Linked DNA regions of Homo sapiens: regions 2, 3 and 4 are each linked to region 1. The links are contacts of gene promoters, found by promoter capture Hi-C in blood cells and fetal thymus (Javierre and others, 2016). All regions are on one chromosome and are shown on one strand. The core of a region is centred on a gene start or on the middle of the fragment in contact, and the rest is flanking DNA. Distances in the headings are between cores, read along the strand shown.

Region 1 (3,219 bases), core at 536-3,035:
GGAATGGAAAGAAACATTTTAATAGCCTTTTTATATATGAGTGGTTATTCCTTTATGATACTACTACACCAAAACTTGACAAGCAGTTTCTTAAAGATTAGTTGCAATGTGGAATCTGAAACAATATCAATGAACTACTTGTACCCTATAAGCCTGTAACAGAATGTATTATTTTGAAAATAGTTTTAATACTGTAGATGCCCTGAAGAGGTCTAAGTGAAACTCCCACCTGTGTGGTTCCCTGGCCCACATGTCAAGAACCACTGGCTTACACTATTTTTTAACTAGCCAAGTGATGTTGGTTTTCCATTCATGATAATAACGACTTGTTTAAAAGGAAACTTTTGCTTTAAATAATCAGTTTAAAGAAATATGTTAAATTACAATACAGAGGGTATTTATGGGAAAAACGTGAATTTTGAAAACAATAAACAAACATAAGCTGCAAACCTACCCTCTACACTTATTTTATAATGAAATAAACTGCTAGACAGCTTTCCCTCACCTTATCTCTTTGCTGGCTTCTCCTAATGGTGAGGTCTTGGCTCTGTATGTCAACTCTTCAGGAAGGTGATTCTCTGCCACTTAGGTGGCAGATTAAAGGGCAATACTAGGAAACACTGATAGTAAGGAAGAACTTTTCTTCTCCTGAATTTTATAAAAATAAAATATCCATAAGGCACCTCTATATTACTATTAATCCACTCAAATATATATTGATTTCCTATTAAGTGGCAGCATTGTACAAATAATTTGTAAGACTCACAAACCTACTAAATAGATATCCTGTCTTTAAAGAGTTTGCATTCTGATTGGCAAAATTTTGACCAGTTAGGTATACAAAAATTTAGACTAGAAAGGTAGAAGTATTACAAGACAGAGTAGTCAAAATTCTAGGGAATAAAGATTATCCTCACTTCAGAGAAAGGGTGCCCTTTGAGGCTGACGTGGGTTGTAGGTCAGATGAAGAGATTTGGAGGTAGGGCACTCATTTATAAACAAAAGGCAGCAATTAGTTATAGGTTTAAATTGCTCCAAAGGTAACAGGCCTTTAAGAAAGTCAATATCATATTCTTAAGCAGGAGTCCCTGATGCTGGGGAAGGGGGAAAGGGTCACAGAAGTCAGCCTTGCTGGAGATCACCGGCCTGCGTATCTCAGGCCCACGGGGGTGCCCCACCGAGGCTTTGCCTCACCTGACCGTCCTGACCACGAAGTACACCAGCACCGCGCCGCTCACCACCATCAACACGGTCAGGGCCCGCTGGGTCATGGGCTTGTCGCCAGGGTTGGGGCTCACAGCAAGGCCGCCACCCACCGAGCCTTCCCCGGCCTTCCCTCCGTGATCGTCCGTCTCAAGCCCGGCCACAGGGTTGCTGCCATTGCCTCCCTCGGAGCCCCGCGGCCCCGCAGCTTCAGCCAGACCACGGCCCGGCTGCTGGGCAGGGGTAGGGCCCGGTGGCAGCGGCGGTAATGTCCGTGGTCTAGGGTCAGGAGGCCCAAGACCTGGCGCGGCCTCGGCTGCCTGCAGCAGGACTGCCAGGGGCCCGCTTAGTTCAGGCAGCAACAGCAGGAGGAGGACGGAAGCCAAGAGGTGGCTGAGACAGCAGCAGCACTGCGAGGCCTTCATCGTTCCCGGACCGCTCTCTCACCACCCGGGAGCCGCCAGGCCCGCCACGCTGGCTCCAAGAGGGACCATAGGCGCGGTGGAGAATGAAGCAGAGGTGACCAAACGCCAGGGAGAGGCCCGGTCGTGGCAGGTGGCAGAAGCTACAGCAGTGGCAGCTGCCCGGAGAACCGGAAGTTCGTACATCTCAGCGGCCACTGCTGCTAAGGACGCCTTCGGTTGCTAACTTGTAGGGGCGGATGCACTTGGTGACGTCAGAGGCCTAGCGCCCAGTGCGCACGCGCACTTGTGTAAAAAGCGAGGACGTGACCGTTTTGGAAGCATTGTTCTTTTCACTGTTAGTGAGGAGCGGTCAAGGATGCGTATTAAGAAAGTAAGTAGACAAAAAGAGATTGTGTAAAATGTACAGCAACTCTCTCATGCAGGAACCCTGAGAGATTGGAAACTCATAATCTGAATTCATTGGTGTCAAACTGCAATAACACATTTAATCTGTAAGCCAGAAGGGCTTAGTTTTCCTTAGCTTCATTACAAGCTTTAAGCAGGCTTTTTTTCCTGCCTATGGGTCCCTGACCTCCCTTTCTAAAGAGCATTTGCTTGTAATGAGTTCATGTCCTTTGTAGGCACATGGATGAAGCTGGAAACCATCATTCTGAGCAAACTATTAGAAGGACAGAAAACCAAACACTGCATGTTCTCACTCATAGGTGGGAATTGAACAATGAGAACACTTGGACACGGGATGGGGAACATCACACACCGGGGCCTGTCGTGGGGTAGGGGGGAGGGATAGCATTAGGGGATATACCTAATGTAAATGACGAGTTAATGGGTGCAGCACAGCAACATGGCACATGTATACATATGTAACAAACCTGCACGTTGTGCACATATACCCTAGAACTTAAAGTATATTAAAAAAAATTACTTTAGAAAACTTTACCATTGTAAGTTATTTCTCTTCCCTTTTCAGATGTAAATATTTTTTAAAGCTTCTGGCCAGTTATATAATTGAAAACTATCTCAAGGGTATGGAAAGCCATCATGCCTTTGAAATATAATCAGCAAGGAAGGTAGTGGGCCATCTCTTATTTTGTGTGAGAGGAAAGGAACCTAACTGTTGTAGGCTTCTCGCTTCAAGTTGTAAAACCACCTCCTGTCATGGAGGAGAAAATTTACTTTTCCTTTGGGTAAAGTCAATCAGCAAACTCAGGTGGCCGGTGATCTTCCCAAAATAGCTCTTAATAACTCTCCACTCCTTTTTTTCTTTTAGAGGAGTTGAGATTAGAAGAGTTTTATCCCCTTTCCCAACAGCAGTAGTCTTCAATAATGTCTTCCTTGCCTGTTTGACTTCAGTAATATGGAACTTCAATTTGTGCAGATAACTAGAAGTGGCCGCATGATGTACCTCTCACCAATGAGATGCCTGTCAAGGGTATACGTGGGTCTTTTGAGTAAGTTATTGTTTTCATTGCTAAAAGAGAGACAGATACAGGTAGATATATACAGAGAGAGAGCCAGAAACACACACACATGCATACACACACCTACCTCTCTCATTATTCCTTTCCCCCTTTCACTTGCCTGCCCTCTC
Region 2 (3,219 bases), core at 261-2,760, 1.8 Mb before region 1:
GGCTCACTTTGGATGGGATAATCTCTGTAAGAGGAAACTAAAGTAATATAGCTAGTAAGTAGAAAAAAACATAAAATATGATAAACATGTATGATTTCTACAGGTGTGAGAATAACACAAAAGAACGTTAAGAACAAAAGTTAAGAAGATATATTTTGAAACAGCGTGGACTTTCTATTGTGTTGTAAACAATAAATTTAAGTAGGTTGGAGAGAAAGTGTTTTTTTAAGGGAAGCTTTTAGAAAGACATAAGCATTAGAGGTGATTAACTTTGAATGGAGATGATCAAAGGGAAGTTGTGGTTGTTACTGGACTAAAAAAAGAGGTAGTATTAAAATTAAGAGGAACAAATACATGCTATTAAGGGCTAATTTTTTGTACAAGTTAACCCAAACATAGTGTCAAAACACTTTTAAATAAGTCATATTTGACATTCATTTTGACTTACTTCAACATAATATTAATATGACACAACATATTGTAGTATGACTTTAAAATATTTAAAATGCGATAAGTAAATCTTTACCACGTAACATTTTTTTCATCTAAGCAATCTTAATTTCTTTTAGATGAGTGTTATTTTAATGTTACCATGCAAAATAATCTTTATGTCTCTTTGAGACTTTGGGAGAGAGGCATTATTAAATACTGAGGAATTGTAGAAAAGTAGTTACTTAGCCTAGTAAAGCTCTTTTTATTTATTGACCAATAATTAGATAATTTTTCCTACGTTGCACTATATCTTTGTTTCTCTTTTCCATCTCCTTTCCCTCAAAGAAACCTTAAATGATAAAAATTCACATTAGCTGTAGCACTAAATTTCTAATTTTTTTTTTATTGGCATTTGAGAGAGAATGCTTCATCAAAGGACTTTGGTTATGCTTGGTAACTACTTACAAAAGCTGTGCTAGGAAAATGATTACAGTAGGACTCAAAGTGGACTTTACTTCTGGTTACTATTTTATCTTTTTTTCTTAGAATACTTTTTTCTTTAATGGAATGCTTGCCTAGATTTGAGAAGACCTAGGGCAAAGAATTTTAGAGGTTTTCAAGCACAAATTCAATACAGGAAGCTTTAATTTTGCTTGGCCTCTGAGTGTTTTTCCTTTTTTGATATTATTTTTTACTTTACGGAAGTCACTTATTTTTCTTAAATTTTACTTCTTTGTAACTGAAATGAATAAAGGAGTAATAAGAAGAGGTGATTTTTTTAGATTAGAAGCTATAATGGTGTAATAAAACAAATGATTCAATTTTAAATTTAATACATACAGTAAAAGGCCTAGAGCTACCTTTTAGCAATAGTTAATGCTCTAGATAAAACTATCACAATTTTTTATATCAGAGGCTTTTCAGTCTTTCTCATACTTCCTAGATAATATGAATTACCCTGAGCCAGGCTCAATGGCTCACACCTGTAATCCCAGCACTTTGGGAGGCTGAGGTGGGTGGATTACTTGAGGCCAGGAGTTTGAGACCAGCCTGGCCAACATGGTGAAACCCTGTCCCTACTAAAAACACAAAAATTAGCCGGGCATGGTGGCAGGCACCTGTAATCCCAGATACTTGGGAGGCTGAGGCAGGAGAATCACTTGAACCCAGGAGGCGGAGGTTGCAGGGAGCTGAGATCGGGACACTGCACTCCAGCCTGGGCAACAGTGTGAGACTTCGTCTCAAAAACAAACAAACAAAAAAAAATATATATGTGTGTGTGTGTGTATATATGTGTGTATATATTTGTGTGTGTGTGTGTGTGTGTGTGTGTATGTATATATATGAATTATCCTGGATGGTTGCTATTCCTGTTTAATACTGCCTCTTGGAAATCCTGATTCAGTAAGTTTGGAGTAGGACTCAATCAATATTTTTAAAAAATTACCCAGGTTATCTTAGTCTAATTTAGGACATACATGTCCATTTTAGTGTCTGATTACTTTGTAAAGCTTCTAACTGTGGATATAGAGAGAAAGGTTTCTTTTCCTTTCCAGATTATTGCTTTATGTCTTCCTTTAAAATAGGAGTTTCACAATCATCATGAAATGCTAGGTGCTCTAATGCAGCCAGTTTTGTTGAAATGCAAATGACCAAACTTCTGAAATAGAGGAAACTTACAGAGAAAAATAAGTAGGAAAAAAATGTGTCAATGAAATTTTAGCACAAACTCATTCTCATTACAAGCTATAGTTTGCTGGTAGGTAGAGGTTTAAAAAATCCATGTCCTTTAGCAAGAGAAAAACATGTCCAAACATTTCTGAAAGTACTATCTGCAGAGAACAGTTTCTAGAGGCATTAGGAATATGTTAAAAATGTGTTCAATGGTTGAATGAGTTTGGAAAAAAAAAAAAGAAGAACGCTAAGCAGTTGTCTTTATTGCAGCACTATAAAGCAAATGCATTCTGTGAATCTTTAGTTAGGGGTATGATATGTAGAGTTGATGAAGAGGCTCCGTTGTTATACTTGTCCCCTTCATCCTGCTTTCGCCCCTTACTTTGTCTTCCTCTAGGTAAATGAGGCAGTGAACACACTTTGGTAAAATCTGCTCTATCTGCTTTAGGTTTAACTATGTGAATTTGAAAGCCCTTGTTGAGTTTAGAAACTTTATTATGATCAGCACCTAGAACAGCATGTGATATAGACTAGGTCCTTAAGAACTATTTGTTGAGTTGTCACATATATTAATGAATGGAGTCCTTTGATGAGGTATATTAAGAGCCTAATGCCTTGTCCTTCCACAGAAGACAGTAAGAGTAGGTAATGGCAGATAAAGGCAATTTGGGATTCTCTGTCCACATTTTCCATAAACTTGGGCTAAAAAAATAGGGTAACATTTAAAGAGAATTTTCTCTTTCTCTCTCTTCTTCATCATATTTTTTTCTGGCGACCGAATTAGGACAAATTATGTTGTTAGAGGCAAAAATTATTTTCCGTAATCTTTTTGAGTAAGATTTGAGATCTGAAAAATTTGCAGTGTGAAAAGGAAGCTAAAATGAGAAGCATATTCAGAAATAGTAGCAGAATGCTTTGATATTCTACTTTTGGTTTTTGTCTTAATGACTTGCTAAGATGTTGATTTCACTTCAGTGCTTCTAAGAAAATTCTCTTTTAATGTTCCATTTTTTTAGCCCAAGTTTATGGAAAATGTGGACAGAGAATCCCAAATTGCCTTTATCTGCCATTACCTACTCTTACTGTCTTCTGTGGAAGGACAAGGCATTAGGC
Region 3 (3,219 bases), core at 212-2,711, 1.6 Mb after region 1:
CTATAATGTATTTTTGCTTCAAAATTTCCTTTTTCTTTTGTGAAAGTTTATTAAACGGAATAGAATTAAGAAAGAATTCATTTGGCATTTGCAGGTTACAGTTAGCTTTCTACTGAAAAAAAAAATTTTTAACTATTCTTTCTGTCTGGAGATCTCTCTATAACTATTCACTGAAAGGAAGAAGAATACACAGGAAAAATATGTCTCTTTTGCTATGCTATTGCTGACAGTCTTGAAATTTAGTTACTAAGAAATGTGGGCCAGGATGCACCTGTATAACAGTTACAGCTCAACACAAAGTTTTATGTAACTGAAGTTAAGCTTTTTAAAGATAATGCTGGAAGATTTCAAAGCATCAATTTGCAGCTGTGTGGATTTGTGGTGGTATTTGCAAGCAAATTTTTCAAATCCTGGTAGACTTTTTTTTAGTGTGTGTGTGGTTTGTTTTTTTTTAATTGAGATGGAGTCTCACTGTTGCCCAGGCTGGAGTGCAGTAGCACGATCTTGGCTCACTGCAGCCTCCGTCTCCTGTGTTCTGGCAGTTTTCTGCCTCTGCCTCCTGAGTAGCTGGGATTATAGGTGCCCGCCACCATGCCCCGCTAATTTTTGTATTTTTAGTAAAGATGGGATTTCACCATGTTGGCCAGGCTGGTGGTCTTGAACTCCTGACCTTGTGATCCACCCACCTCGGCCTCCCAAAGTGCTGGGATTACAGGCATGAGCCACTGCGCCTGGCTGACTTTTTTTAGTTTTAAATAAGTTATCTTGAGTGATGATTTACTTCAGGAATGGCTATATGGTTAAAGATCAGAATGGTGTATGAGTTACCTTTCAAAGATTACTTTTCTGTATGTAGTCATAATGTGTGGGCAAACATTAATGTGATGTTACCCCTTTTACTCTGCTTAAGTAGCTGCTTGTTTAAGATCTTGATGACTGATTGGTTATATATGGTGCAGTTTTGTGTTTTAAAATGAGTATTACTTTATGATGAATGGAGAAAATGTTTAACCTTTTTTTAAAATGGGAAATATTTAAAACTACAGAAATAGAAAAGTTGCACCAGTTGTGGTCCGTGGACCAGCGGTGTTGGCATCATTTGGGAGCTTATTATAACTGTAGAACCTTGTGCCTCGCCCCAGACGTACTGAATCAGAATCTTCATTTTAACAAGATTCTAAGTGATTCTTATGTATTAAGTTCATATACATTTATATGAAGCTATTCATCTGGAGTCATAGCATCTTGCCACTTTGTTATTGATGTTGTTATACATGGTTTTCATTCTCTGCGAACCTCCAATTAATTGTGTCTTGAGCAGGACTAGCAAGAGGCTAGGTAAGTTTCGTTTCTCCGGAAGCAGTAACAATGGCAACTGATGATTGTTGAGCTCTTGCTGTGCCTTAACCTAGCATGATGCACATAGGGCATTGTGCATTACTTGAATTGTCACAGTTCATCCTCACAAAACTTCTGTGATGTATACATTGTTATGATTCCCACTTTCCAGATGGGGAAACAAGATTTATAGCCATTTTATTTATTTTTTTATTCTTTTTTAAAAAACTATTACCTAAACTCTATACTTGGATTTCATTGATTTTTCCATTAACTCCCTCTTTTCTGTTGTAGGATTAAATCCAGAGTGCCACATTGCATTTAGTTGTCACGTCTCCCCAGTCTCCTTTCATCTGTGAGAGTTTCTAAGTCTTTCCTTAGTTTTCATGGTCTAAACCATCTTGAGAAATACTGGCCAGGTATCCTGTAGAATGTTTTTGAAATCTAGATTTGTCTTTTTTTTTTTTTTTTTGAGACGGCGTCTTGCTCTGTTGCCCAGGCTGGAGTGCAATGGCACGATCTCACCTCACTGCAACCTCCGCCTCCTGGGTTCAAACGATTCTCCTGCCACAGCCTCCCGAGTGACTGGGACTACAGGTGTGCACCACCATGCCTGGCTAATTTTTGTATTTTTAGTAGAGACAGGGTTTCTCTGTGTTGGTCAGGCTGATCTTGAACTCTTGACCTCAGGTAATCCACCCACCTTGGCCTCCCAGAGTGTTGGGATTACAGGTGTGTGAGCCACCACACCTGGCCTTGTCTATTGTTCTTAGGATAAACTAGGGTTATTGGTTTTTAGAAAGAATACCACAAAGATAAAGTGTGCTAGTCACATCATATGGGAAACATGTTATCCTCATGACATTACTGGTGGTGTTAACCTCTCACTTGGTCAAGGTAGTATTTGCAAGTTTCTCTACTGTAAAGTTACTGTTTTTCCCTTTCCATAATATATTCTTTGGAAGCAAGTCATTTTGTCTAGCCTACTTTCAAGAGGGTTGGGATAGGAATTAAATTCCATCTCCTGGTGGGGGGAGTATTTACATATATTAAATGGAATTTCTGTAAGGAAATTTCTAAATCGTTTATATATGTATGGATTTATGTATGTGCTTTGAGTTGTAATCCAGCTTAGTGGATTACAACTCTATAAAATATATATTTGTATATATTTATGTATAATAGGTATTTTATGTATCTATTGTATAATAGTTGACTTTTTTGTTACTTAAATTGATCTAGCCTTGGCTCTTGGAAGCTTTTTTAGGTTGGCTCGTATGTTTCTTTTACACACTGCCTTACTTTTACCCTAGAATCAGCCACTCTCCAAGGAGCCTTGGTTCCATTTTTTTGGAGAATGGCATTAGAAACCAAGATTTGGGTACTGGGTGTGCTTGTTGATATTCAAGTGTCACTGCTTTTATTTCCTCTCAGTGAACAAAGTAGACAGAGCTAGGTAATATATGTAGATATATTATGTATACCTACGTATCTATAGTCATTTCTGTATCCTTACGTCTGTATACATATTATCTCATACATAAACGTGAGTTCATACCGATGGCTCCAACTCTAATCCTGTGCTATAGGGTTCATTCTAACCTTTCTTTCTTATTGCTTTGTAACTTCCTTACTCAACATTGAGAAACCTGGCTCTGACCATCCACCATTTATCTGCTTATATATTCACTCATAATATACATGTAAAGCAGTTTTAGAATTTTTAGGATATACTTTATCAAGAGAAACTAATTTCGCAACTAAAATACGGTGTTTACATACAGTACACTTTAATATTTAGCCTTTAAGTTTCTAGTCAAAACACTGTTTTCTGATGTTGGTCAAGTTCATTTTTCTCTCACCCCTTTGAGTGTAATTATG
Region 4 (3,219 bases), core at 286-2,785, 1.5 Mb after region 1:
ACTTAATTTGTTTTAAAATTTTTACCAAAAAAGTCATATTATATAAATTTTAGCCTATTTTTCCCTTAGTAGTACATTATAATATTTTCACATATCAAAAAATATTATTCTATAATATGATTTTAAAGGAATCATAGTAATAATGGTGTTTTTAAGTAATTGAACAATATTCATCTTATGAGTAACTCCTTAGAGATAAAGCAACAGAAAGAATCCATAACAGCAAAAAGTGTAGTGAGCTTTTTATTTGTTTTTACATATCAAAGTAATTTTTGCCAAATGCCTACTGTTTGTCTTTTATGTACTGGGAAAACAAAGATAAGTTTTTAGAGCAGTTATAAGATAGGTAAGTTAGTCAAATATTATGTGATGGGTACTAAGACAGAGATAGTCCTACGCGGTACAGGAACACAGAGAAGAGGCCTCTAAGTAAGAATGAGAGTCACCTGTAAAGTGACACTAACTAAACTATTGAAGGACAAGGGGATTGGGAATTGCAGAACAAACAGCATAAGTAAAAGGACTGCCTAGAAACAGTCAATCATTAATTCACAAACTGGCTTGATCATAAAAATCAGTAGAGACTGCCAGGCACAGTGGCTCACGCCTGTAATCCTTGCACTTTGGGAGGCCGAGGCGGGTGGATCACCTGAGGTCAGGAGTTTGATACCAGCCTGGCCAACATGATGAAACTCTGTCTCTACTAAAAATACAAAAAATTAGCCGGGCGTGGTGGCGGGCACTTGTAATCCCAGCTACTCAGGAGGCTGAGACAGGAGAATCACTTGAACCCAGGAGGTGGAGGTTGCAGTGAGCTGAGATCACGCCCCTGCACTCCAGCCTGGGCAACAAGAGCAAAACTCTGTCTCAAAAAAAAAAAAAAAAATCAGTAGAGACATAAGCCCCACTCCTGGAGATTCCAATTTAATATGTTTAGGGTCAGGCCAAGAATCTGCATGTTTAATATGTCCCCAGAAATTCTTACATTCAGTCAAGGTTAAAAAACAATTCTAGTCCCTCCAACTGGAAACCTGCTTGTTTTACAATATAGCAGTAAGGAAGTAGCCATCCCTGAAGCTTGGAAAGTGGCCAAAGACAGAATGTGTGGGTTAAGCCTTGAAGTTTATCCTGAAAGATAAAGGACTGAATCTGAGTTTGCAGAGCAGATTAGCATTTTAGAAGGATCACTCTGTAAGAAACGGAGTATGATGTGTAAGGAAACCTTTTGAGGAGGCTAATGTAGCAATTTAGGTGAGAAGTCATTAAGACCTTAATTTAAAAAGTGGTTATGAGTTTAGGAAAGAGGAGAACAAGAGATACCAAGGAATTAAAAGCCACAGGGATTAGGGATTGATTGAGTATAAGTGAGAGTGACCTAGGAAGACTCCCAGGGAAGTGGATTGGGTGACTGGATAAGAGATATGCCATTTATGAAAATGTGGCATTCAAGTAAAGCGCAGGTTTGAAATACATAAGTTCACTTTTAGATATACTGAATTTTATTGGAAATTCAATCGTAGGTTCCATCGCAAACTCAAAACGAAGATTTGGCAGGAGGAAGTTTGTAATATAACAGTGATCGAAGTTGAACCCATGAGGAAGATAACACTTACTGTTTAAGCAGAAAAAAAGGGAACCTACAATGGAGACTAAAAAGAATTATCTTTTTTCTTTTTAAGGAAAGAATAATGCCACAGAAAACAAAGGAGAAGGACTCCAGAAGGAGAACTGCTACCGATAAATCAAACAAAATAAGGACAAAGCAAAGTTCCCTGAACTGTGCCTTATGGAATTCAATGGTGCAGGTATCAGGAGCATCTCCTCTGCACATGTTTCTGGTGGGCTTGGCCAATCAAATGTTTCCTTCCTAGGAGCTAAATCTTAAGTGGTGACACAAGGAGGAAAGGTAGTTGAACCTTAGTAAACATACATGATTATGCATGTCCACGGTTTCATTTCAGTGGTCCTGTACTTTCTGCCCTCAGGAAGCTTGACTGTTTAGTATTTTCTTCTGTTCTGCATTATACCAGTATATTTCCAATGAATATCATTTTTTCCATAAGTTGTTCTCAATTTGTTTCTTTGGCTTATAATTAGAGACCCAAAACTGCCAAGGTAATTTTACTTTTGCTTTCATTTTCAATAAGACAAACCACTGTTCTGTTTATTTTCTGAAGTAAAACAGGAAAGAGGGCGATGATTGATATAATAAAGTCATTGAGTACACAGAAGAGGATGGAATCCAATCTACAGGTTGAGAAATGAGCCTCGAGTTAGATGGGCACCTTTTCCAACAGGAAGGAGAAGTAAAAATGCCAATAAATAAGCGAATAAGTAAGAGGGAGAGGAAGGTGCCGTTTTCACTTTCTGCCCTTGCCTTTTCACAATGAAAAGGACAGAATCATCATTTGCTGAGTGTAAGAAGAGTTGGTGGTTTTGACAGTAAGGGAAGTAAATGTTTGGAATACCCACTGTCAGTTGATCAGAAGCACCTTCACCATAACTGAGGACTCAGCCTTGGTCAGAAAGCAACAACATACAGTGACATCAATTGGTATGGCTGTGTGATTTTTCTCCAAGAACTCTCAGCTGCTCAGTTCCAGAGTCAGAGAAACAGGATGGCTGGATTAAGAGTTGAAAGTAATATTGAAAGCATAATTTAAGTAGTGGACACCAGTGTGTGGAGCTGAACAGGGAAAATGGGAAGACAGAAGGAGACTAATTGATTAGGAGAAAATGGAGGGCTCAAAGCATATGGGGTCATGAGGTCAAAGGGCAGGCATAGTTCATATAAGGACCAGAAAGTTACCAAAAACAAATGGTGAGGAAAAGCAGATGTCTTGTCTAAACATGAAGCCTGTATCTGAATCTCCCTATGGATGGAGGGTTCACGTTTATCTACCTTCAGACTGCTCTACTCGGCTATCAGTCAGTCTTTCTTAGGATTCCTAATTTGTTTTTCTGACTTTCGCCCACAAGCTGGATGACCACTTGGTGGAGCTCCTGCAAAGAGAATGTCAGCCCATTGGTTAACAAGATACCCTGAAAAACGAGATTCCATAAAATTATGCAGTTCACTGTAGCCTAGTCCAGTAAATGGTGGACTGATTGAGAAATACTTTTTTAAAAAAATGTTGTGAGCTACCCTTTCCCTATTGCTTCCAACAGAATGACAGCTGATTCTGGTACTTGGAGCAACCAAAATTTCGGAAGGTTCTT

Evidence for each region. The method cuts DNA at HindIII sites, captures the fragments that hold promoters and counts their contacts. A CHiCAGO score of 5 or more calls a contact.
Region 2: a contact is called between a fragment that was not itself captured here and the fragment with the promoter of FAM174A in region 1, in 1 of 17 cell types (monocytes). The highest score is 8.6, in monocytes.
Region 3: a contact is called between a fragment that was not itself captured here and the fragment with the promoter of FAM174A in region 1, in 2 of 17 cell types (non-activated CD4 T cells and fetal thymus). The highest score is 5.1, in non-activated CD4 T cells.
Region 4: a contact is called between a fragment that was not itself captured here and the fragment with the promoter of FAM174A in region 1, in 1 of 17 cell types (non-activated CD4 T cells). The highest score is 6.8, in non-activated CD4 T cells.

What each region holds. Positions count from the first base shown.
Region 1 is chr5:100,533,940-100,537,158 of GRCh38, reverse strand. FAM174A (family with sequence similarity 174 member A) reads right to left here and starts at 1,785. Exons shown (of 3, transcript NM_198507.3): 1 at 1,195-1,785. The coding sequence starts at 1,628. FAM174A-DT (FAM174A divergent transcript) reads left to right here and starts at 1,916. Exons shown (of 5, transcript NR_172939.1): 1 at 1,916-1,998; 2 at 3,007-3,079. RefSeq lists an enhancer at 1,527-1,826. The HindIII fragment of the contact is 3,135 bases long and covers 1-2,162 here.
Region 2 is chr5:102,283,759-102,286,977 of GRCh38, reverse strand. The region is part of intron 2 of SLCO4C1 (solute carrier organic anion transporter family member 4C1); the gene reads left to right. Among named protein-coding and RNA genes, the nearest start is that of SLCO4C1, 11 kb to the left of the region's middle. The HindIII fragment of the contact is 870 bases long and covers 1,076-1,945 here.
Region 3 is chr5:98,919,388-98,922,606 of GRCh38, reverse strand. All of the region lies in intron 2 of CHD1 (chromodomain helicase DNA binding protein 1), which reads left to right. Among named protein-coding and RNA genes, the nearest start is that of CHD1-DT, 7.6 kb to the left of the region's middle. The HindIII fragment of the contact is 2,275 bases long and covers 324-2,598 here.
Region 4 is chr5:99,032,441-99,035,659 of GRCh38, reverse strand. No RefSeq gene overlaps it. Among named protein-coding and RNA genes, the nearest start is that of CHD1, 110 kb to the right of the region's middle. RefSeq lists an enhancer at 2,177-2,236. The HindIII fragment of the contact is 912 bases long and covers 1,080-1,991 here.